Regions from separate parts of the Homo sapiens genome. Here region 1 is linked to region 2. Evidence: promoter capture Hi-C in human tissues and cell types (Jung and others, 2019). All regions are on one chromosome and are shown on one strand. The core of a region is centred on a gene start or on the middle of the fragment in contact, and the rest is flanking DNA. Distances in the headings are between cores, read along the strand shown. Region 1 overlaps RTN1 (reticulon 1). Region 2 holds the start of RTN1 (reticulon 1).

What was found. Contacts are between HindIII fragments. The study calls those that stand out against the background at their distance.
Region 1: a fragment that was not itself captured here is called in contact with the fragment with the promoter of RTN1 in region 2 in 3 of the 25 tissues and cell types used here (H1 embryonic stem cells, liver and mesendoderm cells).

What each region holds. Positions count from the first base shown.
Region 1 is chr14:59,736,010-59,738,709 of GRCh38, forward strand. All of the region lies in intron 2 of RTN1 (reticulon 1), which reads right to left. Among named protein-coding and RNA genes, the nearest start is that of MIR5586, 90 kb to the left of the region's middle. The HindIII fragment of the contact is 6,932 bases long and covers 1-2,700 here.
Region 2 is chr14:59,869,489-59,872,188 of GRCh38, forward strand. It overlaps RTN1 (reticulon 1), which reads right to left and starts at 1,288. Exons shown (of 9, transcript NM_021136.3): 1 at 902-1,288. The coding sequence starts at 1,142. RefSeq lists a silencer at 1,197-1,296. The HindIII fragment of the contact is 4,177 bases long and covers 1-2,454 here.

The DNA.
Region 1 (2,700 bases), core at 130-2,629, 130 kb before region 2:
ATACCAAAATCTCTAGGATGTAGCTAAAGCAGTGTTAAGAGGGAAATTTATAGCATTAAATGCCCACATTAAAAAGCTAGAAAGATCTTAAGTTAACAACCTAACATCACAACTAAAAGAACTAGAGAACCAAGAGCAAACAAACCCCAAAGCTAGCAGAAGACAAGAACAAAGATGAACTGAAGGAGACAGAGACATGAAAAACCCTTTAAAAATAAACAAATCTAGGAGCTGTTTTTTTAAAAAATAATTTTAAAAATCAACCATTAGCTAGACTAATACAGAAGAAAAGAGAAGAATCAAATAAACACAATCAGAAATGATAAGGGAGATATCACCACTGACCCCACAGAAATACAAACAATGATCAGAGAATACTATAAACACCTCTATGCATATAAACTAGAAAATCTAGAAGAAATGGATAAATTCCTGGAGACATACACCCTGCAAAGACTCAACCAGGAAGAAACTGAATCCCTAAATAGACCAATAACAAGTTCTGAAATTGAGACAACAATAAATAGCCTACCAACCAAACAAAAGCCCAGGACCAGGGACATTTACAGCTGAATTCTACCAGAGGTATAAAGAAGAGCTGGTACCATTTCTATTGAAACTATTCCAGAAAAATTGAAAAGGAGGGACTCCTCCCTAACTCATTCTATGAGGCCAGCATCATCCTGATACCAAAACCTGGAAAAGATACAACAAAAAAATAAAACTTCAGGCCAATATTGTTGATGAACACTGATGCAATAATCCTCAATAAAATACTGGCAAACTGAATCCAGCAGCACATCAAAAAGTTTATCCACCACAATCAAGTAGGTTTACAACTTTGGTTCAACATATGCAAATCAAAACATGTGATTAATCACATAAGCAGATCTAAAGACAAAACCACATGATTATCTCAATAGATGCAGAAAAGGTCTTCAATAAAATTCAACATTCCTTCATATTAAAAACTGTCAATAAACTGGGTTTTGAAGGAACATACCTCAAAATAATATGAGCCATATATGACAAACCCACTGCCAATATCATACTAAATAGGCAAAAGCTGGAAGCATTCCTATTAAAAAGCAGCACAAGACAAGGATGCCCTCTCTCACCACTCCTATTCAACACAGTATTGGAAGTTCTGGCCAGGGCAATCAGGCAAGAGAAAGAAATAAATTGTTTTCAGATAGGAAGCGAGGAAATCTAACTATCTTTGTTTGCAGATGACATGATCCTATATCTAGAAAATCCCATTTTCTCAGTCCAATAGCTTCTTAAGCTGATAAGCAACTTCAGCAAAGTCTCAGGATATAAAATCAATGTGTGAAAATTGCTAGCATTCCTATACAGCAACAACAGGCAAGCAGAGAGCCAAATCATGAATGAATTCCCACTCACAATTGCCACAAAAATAAAATACCTAGGAATACAGCTAACAAGGGATGTGAAGGACCTCTTCAAGGGGAACTACAAACAACTGCCCAAAGAAATCAGAGATGACACAAAGAAATGGAAAAACATTCCATGCTCATGGATATGAAGAATCAATATCATGAAAATGGCCATACTCCCCAAAACAACTTATAGATTCAACATTATTCCCATTAAACTACCATTGACATTCCTCACAGAATTAGAAAAAACTATTTTAAAATTCATTTGGAACCAAAAGAGAGCCAGAATAGCCAAGACAATCCTAAGACAAAGAACAAAGCTGGAGGCATTATGCTACTTGACTTCAAACTACACTACAAGGCTACAGTAACCAGAACAGTATGGTACTGGTACAAGAACAGACACATAGACCAATGGACCAGCATAAAGAAACCAGTAATAAGACCACATACCTACAACCATCTGATCTTTGACTAACCTTACAAAAACAAGCAATGGGGAAAGAATTCCCTATGTAATAAATGGTGCTGGGATAACTGGCTAGCAATATACAGAAAATGGAAACTGGACCCCTTCCTTACACATGTACAAAAATCAACTAAAGATGGATTAAAGACTTAAATGTAAAACCCAAAACTATAAAAACCCTAGAAGAAAATCTAGGCAATACCATTCAGGACATAGGCATGGGCAAAGATTTCATTACAAAGACACCAACAGCAATTGCAACAAAAGCTCAAACTGACAAATGGGATCTAATTAACTAAAAGCTTCTGCACAGCAAAAGAAACTATCATCAGAGTGAACAGAACAGAATGGGAGAAAATATTTGCAATCTATGCATCTGACAAAGGTCTAATATCCAGCATCTACAAAGAACTTAAACAATTTACAAGAAAAAAAATAAACAACCTCATTAAAAATTGGGCAAAGGACATGAAAAGACACTTCTCAAAAGAAGATATACATGCAGACAACAAACATGAATAAAAGCTCAACAGCACTTATAATTAGATAAATATAAATCAAAACTATAATGAGGTACAATCTTACAAAATCAGAATGGCTATTACCAAAAAGTCAAAAAACAACAAATGCTGGCAAGGTTGTGGAGAAAAAGGAATGCTTTTACATTGTTAGTGGAAGTGTAAATTAGTTCAACCATTGTGGAAAACAGTGTGGCAATTCCTCAAAGACCTAGAGGCAGAAATACAATTTGACCCAGCAATCCCATTACTGGGTATATACCCAAAGGAATAGGAATCATCCTATCATAAAGATACAGGCACATGTATGTTT
Region 2 (2,700 bases), core at 38-2,537:
GGGGCCTGGGCTCCCGCTGGACACTGGCGCGCTCAGACTTTGAATAGGGCGTCAGGCGAAGAATGGCCAAACCCAGGGCAATTTCCGGGGTGGGGGGGGGGGGGCGCTTAGACTGCTGGTAAACTGTACCACGTCCACTCACCACCACCCAAGCCCTCCAACCCACAGCCAGGCCCGCCGCACTTAGGACTTGAAGTTTCAATGCTCCCTGCAAGGTGGGGCCATCCGGGCAGCGGCGAAATACAGGTTTTGGGCGGGGGCAGCCACAGCACCCAACCCTCTTGCAAAGCTGTGCCTCCCGAATTAGGGACAAACTCCCTGGGATTTGTTTTCTGCGGGAGAAAAGGCGGAGGGATGTGGGGGGAGTAAGGTGTGGTGGCGATTCGTGGAGGGCAAGGGTAAGGGGCAGTTACAGCCACATCTCTGCCCTGGACAGAGCCGGGTCCAGGGGCCGCGGGCCTGCCCGCCGCTCGGTTGTCAGCATCTCCTGTAGCCGGCGCGCACACTGCGCGCAAACACGCCCCCCAAAATCCCCACAACCTGTCAAACGGGCCCTACAGCTCGGAGCCTCCTGGCAGGAGGGAGAAACTTGTACCCAGACTCGCCAGCAGCCAGAATGCTGCTGTTTGCCTATGAGAACAATTTTTAAAGCGGAAATAATCATGATAATGAAATAAAAGGATCAAAAGCATCTTGACTTTTTCTGAGCCTTTGGGAAAAATAAAATTGTTGTTTTCTACCAGCCCGCGAATATTCCCAGTCGCCCGTGGCGACGCGGGGGTGGGGTCGGCGCTCAAGGCAGAAAGCGCGAGGCAGGTGCCCAGGAGAGCCGCGCAGAAGGGGACTGACTGGGGGGCCCTGGTCCCCGACGCCATTTGAGGGGCAGCGGCGCCCGCCTTACCTGTGGATGCAGTTTCCATGGCAACGGGCGACTGCCGGGCGGGGCCCGAGCCGGCTTCCCGCGACGCCGCTTCCCGGGCCCTGGCGCCCAACCCCGGGCTGGGCTCCCCAGCCTGCGGCGCCGGCGTGGCCCCTTTCGGCGTCACCGCTTCGTTCTCCCCCTCCCCCCGGTGCCTGAGCCACTGGGACCCGGGGCCGGCCAGCGGCAGCAGCTCGTCCTGCGGATCCCCCGGCGCGGCCATGGCTGGCGGTCCCCCGGCGCGGCGACGGCGGCTTGGCTGGGCAGAGGCTCGGTGGCTGCGCGGGCGCTCCCTGCTGCTGTCCCCGGAGGGACTCGGCGCTCAGGGAAGCTGCGGTGTCTCAGCGTCGCCGCCGCCTCTGCTGCAACTCCGCCGAGCCGCTGCCTGCCGCTCTTCCCGCTTCAGCTCCTCCTTCTCCCCCCTCCTCTTCCTCCGGCCCCGCCGCGGCCGCTGCCTGCGCTCCTCCTCCTACTCCACTCGCTGCTGCCGCCGCTGCTTCGCTATTCCCAATCCTGTTATTACGCAGGTGAAAATGGCCTGCTTGGTCCGGGTCCTCCTGGGCACGTCAGCCCCCAACCTGCAAATGGCAGGCCCCGGTTAGGGGATGTGCCAAATCCACTCGAATCTTCCTCTCGTTTGGGGAGGAAAAAAAAGGAAGAACCAGCAAGTAGCAGCAGCCACCAGCAGCGTCGCCTTCCCAACTGAGAAAGTTAAGCCCCGACTGGTGTCCTGGGTCCCGAGGCAAAGAGGGAAAGCTAGAGAACTCAGGGCCACAGTTCTGAGAGTGACCAGTATGAGTTGTGGAGGGGACACAGGTCTGAACGGGGAAGGGGTGGAGATGGGTTCTGATGGCAGATGGAGACCAGGGAAGCTGCAACCCCGCGGTTAAATCCTGCGTTTCCAGAATGGGCCTGAAAATAGTGGAGTAAAGAAATGAGTTATCAGGACAGCCTCCAAAAAAAGCTTAACAGATCTCACCCTGACCAGCCCTGAGGGCAAACAGGGTGTCAATAGGCAAGGACAAAAGCTGTACATTTGCTTTCAGAAACACTGAGCCAAGGCCATCCTAATCATAAGCTGTCTGTGCAGTCCGTTGTATTTCAGAATTTGGACATTCCATGAAGCTTGCATCTTTTTCTTTACAGTTCACTGTGATAAAATGGAAGATAGTCAGCAAATAAACCCAAACTCAGAGGAGGAAAGTGACTTGCCTTATCATATGTTGTGCCCATACGAAGACCCATCTTTTCAAATGTCTTGTGTTTTATTGGTTCCCAAGTTGTTTATATAATAAAATAATGTGCCTTTAAAAACTAAGATTCACCACAACACACAGGGTGAAGGAATAGGTTTTTCTGCTGTTTCTTCTCTAGGAAAGGTGGGCGCAGACGGTACCGCACACACTGTGAGACTGTGGGACTCTTGGCCACCATGCGCATCTTGAGGATTTCATACCTGTCCATTGGTATATTCAAAGGCCAACTTCAGGACCATTCAGGTGCTCCTCAATAATGCTAAAATGAAAAAGCCCAGAGTCTGCCTAATCTTTTGTTCTGCTAGTGCACTAATGTTCAAAAGATGACAATAAATTAGAGAAAAATCATTCACTAAACAATAAATATGGCCTCCTGAAGCCAGATATCCCTGGAAATCTGATGGTCACCAAAATTTTACATTTTTGACATACTCAAAATTATGTCTCATGATGGAAATATTCACTATCTAGATTGTGGTTATAGCTTCACAGGTGCAAACATATGTCAAAACTTATTGTTTACTG